2 separate regions of the Homo sapiens genome follow, and region 2 is linked to region 1. Evidence: promoter capture Hi-C in human tissues and cell types (Jung and others, 2019). All regions are on one chromosome and are shown on one strand. The core of a region is centred on a gene start or on the middle of the fragment in contact, and the rest is flanking DNA. Distances in the headings are between cores, read along the strand shown. Region 1 holds the start of PPIL2 (peptidylprolyl isomerase like 2). Region 2 overlaps MAPK1 (mitogen-activated protein kinase 1).

Region 1 (7,469 bases), core at 2,348-4,847:
CCAAGGAGCATGCTTGCTGAATCATAGGGTACGATAGCCAAACTGTCTTCCAAAAAGACTGTACCATTTTGCATCCAGCAATGAATAAGAATTCAAAGGCCTTGGCTGGGCACAATGGCTCATACCTATAATCCCAGCACTTTAGGAGGCTGAGGCGGGCGGATCACGAGGTCAAGAGATGGAGACCATCCTGGCCAACATGGTGAAACCCTGTCTCTACTAAAAATACAAAAATCAGCAGGGCGTGGTGGCTCATGCCTGCAGTCCCAGCTACTTGGGAGGCTGAGGCAGAAGAATCGCTTGAACCCAGGAGGCAGAGGTTGCAGTGAGCCAAGATCGTGCCACTGAACTCCAGCCTGGCGACAAAGTGAGACTCTGTCTTTAAAAAAAAAAAAAAGAATTCAGAGGACTTTTTGTGTAAGGAACTCACACTGTTTTATAAAAAGACAATTCAGAATTCTGGCCGAGCGTGGTGGTGCACTACTGTAATCCCAGCAATTTGGGAGGAGTGAGGTGGGGGATCACTTGAGCTCAGGTATTCAAATTAGCCAGGCATGTTGGTGCGCACCTGTAGTCCCAGCTACTTGGGAGGCGTGAGTGGGAGAATCTCTTGAGCCCAGAGGGTGGAGGCAGGCACCTGTAGTCCCAGCTACTCGGGAGGCTGAGGCAGGAGAATTGCTTGAACCCGGGAGGTGGAGCTTGCAGTGAGCCGAGATCACGCCACTGTACTCCAGCCTGGGCAACAGTACGAGACTCCATCTCAAAAAATAAAAAGTAATAATAATAATAATAATAATAATAATAATAAATCTTTAAGTTCACCAATAACAATAGATACAAAATATTCCATCAAACGGGTGGAACATCATTTACTCAACTGTTCTTGCTTTTTGAAATATTTCTCCAATGGGGTCAATTTTTAGGTTATTGGTGCATTTTGCTTTCTGACTGAGTCATCATGGTGCATCACCACAAATGGGTTATTTTTAATTGGTTTGTATTTATTTGTTTGCTTGCTTATTTAGAGACAGAGTTGTGCTCTGTTGCCCAGGCTGTAGTGCAGTGGCGCGATCTCAGCTTACTGCAACCTCTGCCTCCCAGGTTCAAGCGATCACCATGCCTCAGGCCTCCTGAGGAGCTGGGATCACAGGCACATGCCACCACGCCCAGCTAATTTTTGTATTTTTAGTAGAGACAGGGCTTCACCATGTTAGCCAGGCTGGTCTCGAACTCCTGACCTCAGGTGATCCAACCGCCTTAGCCTCCCAAAGTGCTGGAATTACAGGCGTGAGCCACCGCACCGACTGTCCCCTCCCCACACCCCGGCCCTTTTTTAAAGAGACAGGATCTCACTCTGTTGCCCAGGCTAGAGTGCAGTGGCTTGATCATAGTTTACTGCAGCCTCAAACTCCTGGGCCTCAAGTGATCCTTCCACTACAGCCTCCCAAGTAGCTGGAATCACAGGTGCTGCCACCATGCTGGGCCTAAGATTCCAGCCCTTAAGGAGCTACATCCCATCCACTGTATGTGTGTCATGGAGGCAGTGGTTGTGTCAGGGAGGGTGCTCAGTAAACCGGGACACAGACTGAATTACACAGGATTACAAATTGTGAGGAATTGTGACAGACTTTATGGGAGATGCATGGAAGTGGGTGGTTAGGGAAGGTCTCTCTGGGGAGGTGACACTTATGTTAAAACCTAGAGAATAAGAAGCCAGCCATGAAATAAGGCAAAGATAGCTGGCTTTCGGTGACTGGGTGGATGGTGGTACTGCTCAGCAGAGTGGGGACTGGGAGAAGAGGGAGGATTGAAAATTCTGCTTTATGGCCGGGTGCGGTGACTCATGCATGTAATCCCAGGACTTTGGGAGGGCTGAGGCGGGAGGATCACCTGAGGTCGGGAGTTCGAGACCAGCCTGACCAACATGGAGAAACCCCTTCTCTACTAAAAATACAAAATTAGCCAGGCGTGGTGGCGCATGCCTGTAATAATCCCAGCTACCTGGGAGACTGAGGCAGGAGAATCGCTTGAACCTGGGAGGCGGAGGTTGCAGTGAGCCAAGATCACACCATTGCACTCCAGCCTGGGCAACAAGAGCAAAACTCCATGTCAAAAAAAAAAAGAAAAAAAAAAAGAAAATTCTACTTTGACCAGACATGTTAATTTAATTTTTTTAGGCAGAGTCACTCTGTCACCCAGGCTGGGATGCAGTGGCCTAATCTTGGCTCACGGCAACCTCTGCCTCCCCAGTTCAAGCTACTGTCTCGGCCTCCCAAGTAGCTGGAATTACAGGTGTGTGCCACCACACCAGGCTAATTTTTTGTATTTTTAGTAGAGATGGGGTTTTGCCATGTTGGCCAGGTTAGTCTTGAACTCCTGACCTCAAGTGATCCGCCTGCCTCAGCCTCTCAAAGTGCTGGGATTGGCCGGGCGTGGTGGCTCACGCCTGTAATCCCGGAACTTTGGAAGGCCAAGGCAGGCGAATCAGGAGGTCAGGAGATCGAGACCATCCTGGCTAACATGGTGAAACCCCGTCTCTACTAAACACACACACACACACACACACACACACACACACAAAGTGCTGGGATTACAGGCGTGAGCCACCACGCCCATCCAGACATGTTACATTTCAGATCAGTGGTTACCCAAGTGGAGATCAGGAACCTGGAGTGCTGGTGACTTAGTACTGGGAGTCATGGGATACAAATGGCATTTAAAATTAGGAGCCTAGGCAAGATTACCCTGGGCCTGAGTGTAGCTAGGGGCCCAAGGTACTGATCTGACCCAAGGGAAGGGTCTGGCAGAAGAGACGGAAGGGATCAGGTAGGGCTTTGGACCTCTAGGCTTGATGGCCACCTGCTGCTGGGCCTCCGAGGGGCCTGGAGGCGGTGGGGACCGAATATGCAGAGAGAATGAGAAGTGAGCGAGTAGAACGAGAGTGGTACATGGCTTTGAAGGCATCTGCCACGGAGGCGGGAAGGGATGGGGTGGAGGCTCATGAGACTTGAAGCTCTAGGAGGACGTTGAAAAAGACCTGAGCGCTGGCCGGGCGCGAAGCCTCAGGCCTGTAATCCCAGCACTTTGGGAGGCCAAGGCGGGAGGACTGCTTGAGCTCAAGAGCTCCAGACCAGCCTGGGCAACATTGTAAGAGCCTGTCTCTACAAAAAATTAACAAATTAGCCGGGTGTGGTGGTGCGTGCCCGTAGCTACTCGGGAGGCTGAGGTGGGAGAATCGCTTGAGCCTGGGAGGTCGAGGCAGTAGTGAGCTGTGATTGTGCCACTGCACTCCAACCTGGGCGACAGAGCGAGACCCTGTCTCGAAAATAAATAAATAAGACCTGAGAACCCAGTATGGGAATGGCCCTGAGCCGTGGCTAGGGGGGTAGACAAGGCGGTCCAGACAGACCCCTCAAGAAGATGGGGCTTCGAGGCTGAGGGAGCTCGGCCCCGAAAAGACGCCTGCGGGAGATGGCACACCTAGCTAGGACCCCATACTGGGCAGGCGATCCTTCCGAGCATGAGCACCTGGCGCTAGCGAACCACAATTCCCAGCACGCCAGGCGCCCGTTTCCGGGGCGCGCCGCGGAACCCGGAAGTGGTCACGGAACTCGGCTGCGGCTCCATGGTCTGAGTTGTCAGCCGTTGTTTTTTCGTGCTCGCTAGTCGCCGCCGCCGCTCCGCCATGGGGAAGCGACAGCACCAAAAGGACAAAATGTAAGTTGAGCCGCAGTCGGGAGCGGCGCTCCACTCTGCCTCAGTGAACCGCCTGTCCCGCACTGCGCGCCGCTCGCCTTCCCTCTCAGCTACTCCCCAGAGCACAGCCCAAAGGTCACTTCCTCCCGGAAGCTGCCGCCCTGTCTCCAGTCAGGGTAATGACCCTCGGGCCGCCGCGCTCTCCCGGGGCCGCGGCTCCGATGACGTCAGCTGCGGGCTCGAGCGCAGCCCGGTTTTCCTTACTCTGGTTCTGCCCGGACCGTCCCCCGTCTGTTCGCGAGTTTCGCCCTTGAATGAGTAGTCTCTACCTCTTCCGTACTTCACGTCTCGCTGTGTTCTGGTTCATGCCTATCAGCCTGCAAACGTGCTGCAGAGCCTTCTAATTTAAAGCAAACCAGGTCGGGCGCAGTGGCTCACCTGTAATCACAGCACTTTGGGAGGCCGAGGCGGGCGGATCACCTGAGGTCAGGAGTTCAAGACCAGCCTGGCTAATACGGTGAAACCCCGTCTCTACTAAAAATACAAAAATTAGCGGGGCGTGGTGACGGGCGCCTGTAATCCTAGCTATTTGGGAGGCTGAGGCAGGGGAATCGCTTGAACCCGGGAGGCGGAGGTTGCGGTGAGCCGAGATCGTGTCACTGCACTCCAGCCTGGGCGACAGAGCGAGACGCTGTCTCAAAAATAATAAATAAAATTTAAAAATCCACCCGTGCCCCGTGCCCCACGTCCCACGTTCCCCTCCCGCTGCCGCCGTGTTGTTTCTCTTAAGAACAAGTGAGAGACTAGTGGCTTCATGCTGTTTTCTGAGTCTCTTGAAACCACTCAAGTCAGAATTTCGACCCCAGAACTGTTGGGCTTCTCAACAGTATGTCACACCGTTGACCACTCCCTCTTTCTGAAGCCCTCCTTTGGTATCTGGGATTTCACCTGCTCTTTGTTTTCTCTCGACTTCAGCGGCCTCTCTTTTCAGGTTCCCAGCGACTTCTTGTTGCTAAATATAGTATTCAATCCTCAGTCCTCATTTTTTTTTTTTTTTTTTTTTGAGACGCAGTTTCGCTCTTGTTGCCCAAGCTAGAGTGCAATGGTGAGATCTTGGCTCACCGCAACCTCCGCTTCCCGGCTTCAAGAGATTTTCCTGCCTCAGCCTCCCGAGTAGCTGGGATTACAGGCATACGCCACCATGCCCAGCTAATTTTGTATTTTTAGTAGAGAAGGGGTTTCTCCATGTTGGTCAGGCTGGTCTCGAACTCCTGACCTCAGGTGATCCACCTGCCTCGGCCTCCCAAAGTCCTGGGATTACAGGCGTGAGCCACCGCGTCTGGGCAGCCTCAGTCCTCATTTTGTTGGGCTTCTCAACAGTATGTCCCACTGTTGACCACTCCCTCCTTCTGAAGCCCTTCTTTGGTATCTGGGATTTCACATGCTCTTTGTTTTCCATCGACTTCAGCGGTCTTTCTTTTCCCAGTCTCCTTTCTGGACCCTCCTCCCTTCTCTCAGATCTCATACGTTTCTTTTCCATAAACATTCTCTGTGGGTGATATAATTTCCCAGTCATCTATAAGCTGCTTTCCCCAGTCTTGTGTAGTTAGTGGCTTACTTAATATCTCCACTGGAGGACTGAAAGACATCTCAAATTTTTTTTTTTTTTTTTTTTTTTTTTTTGAGATGGAGTCTTGCTCTGTCGCCCAGGCTGGAGTGCAATGGTGCCGTCTTGGCTCACTGCAACCTCTACTTCCCACATTCAAGCAATTCTCCCACCTCAGCCTCCCCAGTAGCTGGGATTATAGGTGCCTGCCACCATGCCCATGCTAATTTTTGTATTTTTAGTAGAGACAGGTTTTCACTATGTTGGTCAGGCCGGTCTCGAACTCCTGACGTCGAGTGATCGACCTACCTCTGCCTCCCAAAGTGCTGGGATTACAGGCGTGAGCCACCGTGCCGGGCCAGACATCTCGAATTTAATATGCCTTAAACAGAACTCTTGATTTTCAGCTCTTGAGCCTGCTCCTCCCTGTAAACTAAAAATAAAACCCTAAGTCCCCCCACTGGCTAAGCAGACACCCTTGTGGCCAAGAGAACCCCAGGAAAACCTTAAAACTGAGTTCCTGGCCATGATGGGATAGAGATCAGCTGTGCCTTGTTATATCCCCCTCCCTTTTGTGGCTTAGACACAACAACTGACCAGCATTAATGTTGAAATAGAGATCATAAGGGGCCAGGCACGGTGGCTCACACCTGTAATCCCAGCACTTTGGGAGGCTGAGGCGGGTGGATCACCAGGTCAGGAGATCGAGACCATCCTGGCTAACACGGTGAAACCCCATCTCTACTAAAAATACACAAAAAAATCAGCTGGGCGTGGTGGCAGGCGCCTGTAGTACCAGCTACTCGGGAGGCTGAGGCAGGAGAATGGCGTGAACTCACGAGGTGGAGCTTGCAGTGAGCCGACATTGCACAACTGCACTCCAGCCTGGGCAGCGAGCAAGACTCCGTCTCAAAAAAAAAATAAATAAAATAAATAAAAATAAAGAAATAGAAATCATAAGATTGACAAAACAGACTCTTTGTGGCAATAAGATACCATTTTTTTTTTTTTTTGAGACGGAGTCTCGCTCTGTCGCCCAGGCTGGAGTGCGGTGGCATGGTCTCCGCTCACTGCAAGCTCCGCCTCCCGGGTTCATGCCATTCTCCTGCCTCAGCCTCCCGAGTAGCTGGGACTACAGGCGCCTGCCACCACGCCCGGCTAATTTTTTGTATTTTCAGTAGAGACGGGGTTTCACTGTGTTAGCCAGGATGGTCTCCATCTCCTGACCTGGTGATCCGCCCGCCTCGGCCTCCCAAAATGCTGGGATTACAGGTGTGAGCCACCGTGCCTGGCCCTCTATTTTTTTTTTTTTTTTAGTAGAGACTGGTTTCACCGTGTTAGCCAGAATGGTCTCCATCTCCTGACCTCGTGATCTGCCCGCCTTGGCCTCCCAAAGTGCTGGGATTATAGGCGTGAGCCACCTTGCCCGGCCGGTTTTTTTTGTTTTTTGTTTTGTTTGTTTTTGAGACAGAGTCTCCCCCGTCCCCCAGGCTGGAGTGTAGTGGTGCTGTCACAGCTCACTGCAGCCTCAACCTGCCTTCCTGCCTTAGTCTTTGGAGTAGCTGGGACCACAGGTGTGAGCTGTCACACCTGGCTAAGTTTTAAATTTTCTTGTAGAGACAGATTCTCGCTTTGTTGCCCCAGCTGTTCTCCAACGCCTGGACTCAAGCAATCTTCCTGCCTTGGCCTCCCAAACTGTTGGGATTATAGGTGTGAGCCACTGTGCCTGGTCTCCATGTCTGTTGTGTTTATCACTGTGTGGCTGACATATAGTAGGTGTTTTTTTGTTTGTTTGTTTTTTTGAGACAGAGTCTCACTCTGTCACCCAGGCTGGAGTACAGTGGTGTGATCTTGGCTGACTGCAACCTCCGCCTCCCGGGATCAAGCAATTCTCTGCTTCAGCCTCCCGAGTAGCTGGGATTACAGGCACCCACCACCATGCCCAGCTAATTTTTGTATTTTTAGTAGAGACGTGGTTTCACCATGTTGGCCAGGCTTGTCTTAAACTTCTGACCTCTAGTGATTCGCCTGCCTCGGGCTCCCAAAGTGTTGGGATTACAGGCGTTAGCCACCGTGCCCGCCCCATAGTAGGTATTTAGTAAGCATTTGCTGAGTAAGCAAAGATTACTCACTTCCAAAGACTTCGTCCTCTTTATAAAGGTGGTGG
Region 2 (7,469 bases), core at 2,842-5,341, 110 kb after region 1:
CCATGCCCTCTGTGCTCCATACTGGTGCAGCTGTCCCCTTTATACATGCGTTTACCCCGCCCCTACCTGTTGCAGGTGGCCTGGAGGAAGTCTTCTGAGATAGACAGAGTTACGGGGGGAGGGATTTCAAGCTGTGCCCCACAGCACTCGTCCTCAAGGCAAAGGTGGGCTTGTTGGAAGAACCGGGTATGGCAGCAGGTATATCTCAGGAAAATCTAAGCAAGATATGGTTGGTCCACTGCTGGCTGATCTATGTCCCTGAAGCAGCAGCCAGGAACATGAGCTCTTACCTCGTCACTCGGGTCGTAATACTGCTCCAGATATGGGTGGGCCAGAGCCTGTTCTACTTCAATCCTCTTGTGTGGGTTGAATGTCAACATTTTGTCCAATAAGTCCAGAGCTATAAAGAGAAAGGTTTTGCAGTAGTGAGAGCAGAAGTAGTCACAGAAATACTTCAATTTCCTGTTTAAGTAACTTACCCACAAAACAACTGAGCTAAGCATGACTACAGAGAGAGCAGCCAGCACAAAGGGTGCTGACTATATCTCCAAGCCTCCCGAGACTGTGAACATAGGGACCGACCATCTGACAATTGCAGACCGCAAACAAAAACACTGGCACTACTTAATGAAGCGTCTTTTCTGACAATGATCATTTCTTTTTTTTTTTTTTTTTTTTTTTTTTGAGACGGAGTCTCGCTCTGTCGCCCAGGCTGGAGTGCAGTGGTGCAATCTCGGCTCACTGCAAGCTCCGCCTCCCGGGTTCATGCCATTCTCCTGCCTCAGCCTCCTGAGTAGCTGGGACTACAGGCGCCCGCCACCACACCCGGCTAATTTTTTGTATTTTTAGTAGAGATGGGGTTTCACCGTGTTAGCCAGGATGGTCTCGATTTCCTGACCTCGTGATCCGCCTGCCTCAGCCTCCCAAAGTGCTGGGATTACAGGCGTGAGCCATCGCGCCCGGCCAGCAATGATCATTTCTTATTAGGTTATTTGTAGGTAAAGGTCAACTTCATCCATCTGCAAATTAGCACATACTATTAAGCCCTCAAAGTAGAATGATAAAATATCATTATTTCTTCTTAAAACATTTTAAAATTTAATTGTATGTCCCTTCTCACCATTCCTAAAATGATAAACAATCACGTAAAATTTGGTACAATTTAATACTCATGATCAGTTTAAGGAATCACTTCTAGCCACTACTTTCAAAAAGTAAGTTTTCACTATTTACTAAGAAAATGTTTCCTAACCCTTAAGAACAATCAGTAGACCTTCCGAAGGGATTGCTTGGGTGCTGGGGGGAGGTGGGAGGCATCTTGCTGCCTGAGGTCACTGAAGGGCTGTGGGTGTGTATTTGTGCTCAGCCCCGGCCAATTTTGACCTCCCTTGTTGCAACCCCTGACCTTAAGACAACAGGAGATGATAAACATGGTAAACCACATGCTGGACATAATGAGAAATTCCGCATAGAAAACATTTAAAAGTTATGTATGTTTCTATCTATAATCTTTTCAATACATACAAGTGCACTTTAGGAAATTACGGAATAATGATATTTTGTTTTATAGCCTAGATAACTTTTCAGAGTAGAGAATCCAGACAGGTTTTGCTGTGACTGAAGGAGTGTCTGCGCAGTAGAAGAGGTGGTCATGCCTGCAGCTGTGACCCTGGGTCTGTGGGCACACAAACTGGCTAGGTTTAGGAAGTGGCCCTCTCAAGGGTCAGGACAAAGACGCATGATGGTCAAGAACCCAGGAATCTCTGGTTCAAATCCTACTTCCAAGGAACACTTGTAGATATGTGTGCAAGACACACAACCCTTGCCGAATCTTAAGATTCCTGTGGTTGGCTGGGCACGGGGGCTCACGCCTGTAATCCCAGCACTTTGGGAGGCCAAGGCGGGCGGATCACAAGGTCAGGAGATCGAGACCATCCTGGCTAAAACGGTGAAACCCCGTCTCTACTAAAAATGCAAAAAAAATTAGCCGGGCATGGTGGTGGGCGCCTGTAGTCCCAGCTACTTCGGAGGCTGAGGCAGGAGAATGGCGTGAACCCGAGAGGCGGAGCTTGCAGTGAGCCGAGATTGCGCCACTGCACTCCAGCCTGGGCGACAGAGCGAGACTCCGTCTCAAAAAAAAAAAAAAAAAAAAAAAAAGATTCCTGTGGTCTATAATATAGGTAATAAATCCCACTTTGCTTCCTGCTCCCAACCAGCCCTCCCCACATAGAACTCACAGACATTTTCTCAAGGACTTTCTTGAAACTAGATTAAGTCATTTGGCTTTTCACCCAATTAGATACTGTCTGTGCTAAGAAAAGTCCAGAAGGCCTGGACCACAATAAGATTCTAACAGTATTACTTCTAAACCACTGGGGGCAGAAGGGTCCTACTCAAACTTGTTCGTATTAAGTAGACAGGCACTCCAAGCCAACTGGATGTTTTGCAGCTTAAGCATTTCTAAAACAGATCCATTAGTTCCTTAAAGTTAAATAAATTCTAGGCCCTTAAACCTCCAGGCATAAATTTCAAAGAAGACAGCTTTTTAAAAAAAGATTTGCTACTTGAAAAGTAGCTAGATCTCCAGCCTTCTGTTACTGCAAGTGCTATTTCTACATTATTCATAGCTACAGAAGGAGAAAAGGAGAGAACCGGGAAGCAGCTGGCAGGTGCGGATCCCACAGTCAAGAATGTCCGGACTCCCTCCTCCCACGCCACATGGGCATTCATTGGTAACACTCAGATGGTGTGAATCATGGCTGCCTGTGTGGATGCTTACTTGGATACAGGTTTTATTTCCCCTAAAAGACTGGAAGTCCCTTTGAGGCTAGTATTACTCCTGACCACAAATCCTGACTTTCCCTAGTGCCTTCCAGAATACTACATTTTCTCTTTCTGTGTTTTTTAAAACAGAGTTTGGATTTTGTTCTATGGCCCAGGCTGGAGTGCAGTGGCATGATCATAGCTTACTGCAGCCTTGAACTCCTGGGCTCAAGCAATCCTCCTGCCTCAGCCTCTCGAGTAGCTGGTACTACAGGCACATGTTACCACACCCAGCTAATTTTTTTAAATTAATTTTTCTGTAGAGATGGGGAGTCACTATGTTGCCCAGGCTGGTCTTGAACTCCTGGGCTCAAGTGATCCTCCTGCCTAAGCCTCCCAAAGTGCTGAGATTACAGGTGTGAGCCACTGTGCCTGGCCCTTGTCTTTTTTTTTTTGAAACGGGAGTCTCACTCTGTTGCCCAGGCTGGAGTGCAGTGGCGCTGTCTCGGCTCACTGCAACCTCCACCTCCTGGGTTCAAGCGATTCTCCTGCCTCAGCCTCCCGAGTAGCTGGGATTACAGGTGCCTGCCACCACGCCAGGCTAATTTTTTGTATTTTTAGTAGAGACGGGGGTTTCACCATGTTGGCCAGCGTGTTCTCAAACTCCTGGCCTCGTGATCCACCCGCCTTGGCCTCCCAAAGTGCTGGGATTACAGGTGTGACCCACCGCGCCTGGCCAGCCTGGCCCTTCTCTTTAACTTCAAATAGTATGTAACAACCTGATTCCAACCCTTTCTTCTAATCCATCATCCTTTTTTCCTTCTTGCCCTGTCCTGGACCTGGGGAAAGCCATTGACTGGCTCTCCACAGTGCCTCTTCATGTCTATCTTGCCTGCCTCGTGAAACTCTGACCCTGAATCAATGCTGCAACCTGTCACTTCCATCCTCAACTCATGTTTCTGTGCGGGGCCAGAGAAAAGACTGAACTGTGCAAAGTGTGCCAGTGCGACAGTGCTTCTCAAACTTTCTGATCTCAGAACTCTTTATACTCATCAAAACTGAGGGACGATTTAAAAACCAGTTAATTCTGCTCATAGCTCAAATAGTTACATAAGTGCTTTTCCCTGAGAAAACCACTGCATTCAGTATGCAGCAGAAATGCTATACGTGTTTGTCACACAGACATCGTGAAGACATGTATTAAGGATGGATTTAATATGGTGAGTACTTTTTACTGGCACTGGTTTTGAGCAGTGGGGGTGTGGCAGTGCAGAGCTCAGTAACCTCTCTAGTTCCACTGCCTTGACCTGCCTGTGGTGCTGGGGACTCTGCTCATCATTGCTCCTGTGCCACAAGTGCTGATGGCAACATAGAGAGCAGTGTGAGTAACTCTTTAAGAAGATTATTAAAACAGCTTTAACCTTGTGGACACCCTGAAAGGATCCTGGGGATCTCAGGTGTTTAAGGAGCACACTATCAGTAACTACCGTTCTACAAAAACTCAAGATTTTCAGCCTCATCAAGGCCCTCAACAGCTTCTGGAAAGCTTTGGTCAGTCCCCTCCTCTACTCTCAGATTTCACCCAACTTGCACGGCTTGAATCATGACCTTCTTGCTAACTGACCCTCATTACTCTCAGCATATCTTCTTGAGGGTGCTACAGAGAAAACTGAGGCACCCAAGAGTGATCTTCGCGGAATTCCCTCCTAGCCAGATTCACACACACCCTTACTGACACTGCCAAGAAAGATATCCTCTCTCTACTCAAAGTCAATTCTCCCCAACTTGTGGCCTGGTCCACAACCCCTTCCCCTCATGTGGACCAGTCGTTTCTGTCTCCACTTTCCATTTCAAATTTCTCACTTCCATTCACTGTTTCAACTCCTCTTGCATGGTCACCAACAAGCCCCTCATTGGAAAATCAACCCACATTTTCCAATCTATATCTTGCTAGACCTCTCTGCTGCATGGACACTGTTGTGCATGCCTACTTTCTCAAAATGCCATCTTCTGCTTCTGTGATATCACATGGCACTAGTTTCTTTTCTTTGTCCCTATTCCATCACTGGCTGAAGGTTTGTGTTCTCCAACTTCTCACAATCTCACTCTTCTTCTTCTTCTTCTTCTTTTTTTTTTTTTTGAGACAGGGTCTCACTTTGTTGCCCAGGATGGAATCCAGTGGCCTGATCTCAGATCACTGCAATCTCTACCTCCTGGGTTCAAGCGATCCTCCTACTTCAGCCTCCCGAGTAGCTGGGATTACAGGTGTGTGTCACCACATCAGGCTTATTTTTGTATTTTTGGCAGAGACGGGGTTTTGCCATGATGCTCAGGCTGGTGTCGAACTCCTGGGCTCAAGTGATCCACCTGCCTCGGCCTCCCAAAGTGCTGGGATTACAGGCATGAGTGACCGCACCCGGCCACAATCTCATTCTTCTATCTTTTCAATCTCTTGCAAGATTTAAAAGACCACAGGTTAAATACCTCCCAAAGCTATATTGAGCTGAGGGTGACCAAGCTGTAGATCAATAAATCCAAGTTTGTGTAGGTAATAAAATATATAGCCTATGATTCCATTTACAATCAATGTATGTATCTATATGTGTAATAAAGTCTGCAAGGTTTTCAAACATTAGGTTATCTGAGAAATGGAGACAGACTTCTTATAGAAATTGCGTTTTTTAATTTAAAAAAAAAAAGTGGGGGCCAGGAGTGGTGGCTCACGCCTGTAATCCCAGCACTTTGGGAGGCTGAGGCAGGCAGATCACGAGGTCAGGAGATCAAGACCATCCTGGCTAACACGGTGAAACCCCGTCTCTACTAAAAAATACAAAAAATTAGCTGGGCATAGCGGTGGGTGCCTGTAGTCCCAGCTACTCCAGAAGCTGAGGCAGGAGAATGGCGTGAACCTGGGAGGTAGAGCTTGCAGTGAGCCGAGATCTCGCCACTGCACTCCAGCCTGGGCGACAGAGTGAGATTCCATCTCAAAAAAAAAAACAAAAAACAAAAAAAAAAAAAACGGGGGGCGGGGGGGGTCCGGGTGTGGTAGTGGCAGGAGGATCCCTTGAGTCCAGGAGTTCAAGACAGGACTGGGAAACATAGCGAGACCCCATCTCTACAAAATTTATTTAAATTAGCCAGGCACGGTGCTTGCCCGAGCCCAGGAGTTCGAGGCTGCAGTGAGCTGTGATTGTGCCACTGCACTCCAGCCTTCCAGCCTGGGCAACAGAGGGAGAACCCTGTCTCTTCAGGAAAAAAAAAAGGGGGGGGGTGGGGGGGAGAAAATAGAATTCCTTATCTTCCCTCACTCTCGGGATCACCTGCTGGTTGTGCCCACCAGCATCCACTGCCCCTCTAATCCATCCAACAGTGTTTGCTATAGGGGAGCGCTCAGGCTTGCCCACGCTCCTGGGCTGTGCTGTGGGAATGGTGACACTCACTGGGCCATATTCACCTGAGTCCCCTTGGCCACAGTGACTGCTCAGGGATAGGCATGGCATCCAAGCTGAGCACAAAGAGGTGATGAGAGTCAGCCTAAGTCCTGGCTGCAGTGATCAGGTCAAGTGTCTTACTCTCATCATGAAAAGAGAGGCTGACTGACAGACAGCCCAGAGCAAGGCAAAACTGGATGATAAAGAAGTCCAGATTCTAGACACAGTGTCTGTGCCCATCAATCCACATGTGACTGAACTTTTCAGTTATCAGAGCCAATAAAGCTCTTTCTTGGGCCAGTAAGTTCTTGTTATGTGGAACTGTGGAACTGAAAAGACCTCAGACGGTTGACCCACCAAACCCGGCCTTCTGGTCTGTGTGAATGACTCACCCACATTCCCTTGCTCCCCAAGCACCATCATTCAATGGTAACCACTGCTTATCTTTTCACATATGTTGTTGAATTCTTTTCTATGCATTTTCTTGTAGAAGGCTGAAATCATATTATGTATGACAAATGCTGTTTTATTTTCCCTTAGTAAATACTGTTCATTAGCATTTTCCCCCACTATCAAAACTTTGTAAAAAAAATCACTTTTAGCGGCCTTAAAATATTCCTTTAAGTAGATGTCTCATAATTTACTCAGCCATTTGATTAACATTTGGCACTTAGGTTGTTTCTAATGCCTAACAGGTGCCTTAAATTAAACACAGACTAAACCAAATTCTCAACTGCTGTCACCCAAACTGCTCCTCCTATAGTTTTCCTCATCTCAGTATTTCCTGTAGACTGTGTGTTCTTGTCCTTTGCTCATTTATTTATACACTGTGGTCTTAGATTTGTCTCTGCTCTTTAGATACTAATAATATTAATAATGAATCTAAAGTTAACAATAATTCCTTAACTCTTTTAATTATCCTATGAGGTGGGAACTACAATTGTCTCAATTTAGGGTTGAGGAAATCATGAAACAGCTTAAATAACTTGTCCAAAGTCAAAAATCCAAGTAGCAGAACCCTAGTTTGAACTCAGGAGGCGGACTCCAGAGCACCGGGTATAACCACTGTACTTTGCTGCCTTCTACAGAACAGTTAGGAGAAGGTCCAGTGTTACTCAATTTAGAACATTTTAGACCTATTGTCCACACCTAATCTAATTTTATTTAGCTTTTAAACTTTTATATGTCTCTCTTTCCTTGATGTTTGTTTTAAAACATAGGAAGTCTTTCTCCATGCAGAGATCAGAAAAATACTGAATACTCTATTGTTAGTTT

Evidence for each region. Contacts are between HindIII fragments. The study calls those that stand out against the background at their distance.
Region 2: a contact is called between a fragment that was not itself captured here and the fragment with the promoter of PPIL2 in region 1, in 2 of the 25 tissues and cell types used here (dorsolateral prefrontal cortex and lymphoblastoid cells).

The regions. Positions count from the first base shown.
Region 1 is chr22:21,662,415-21,669,883 of GRCh38, forward strand. It overlaps PPIL2 (peptidylprolyl isomerase like 2), which reads left to right and starts at 3,598. Exons shown (of 20, transcript NM_014337.4): 1 at 3,598-3,717. The coding sequence starts at 3,686. RefSeq lists enhancers at 3,530-4,440, 3,675-3,914, 3,985-4,034. The HindIII fragment of the contact is 22,549 bases long and covers 1-7,246 here.
Region 2 is chr22:21,772,583-21,780,051 of GRCh38, forward strand. MAPK1 (mitogen-activated protein kinase 1) reads right to left here. Exons shown (of 9, transcript NM_002745.5): 7 at 291-400. Among named protein-coding and RNA genes, the nearest start is that of YPEL1, 41 kb to the left of the region's middle. The HindIII fragment of the contact is 9,569 bases long and covers 1-7,469 here.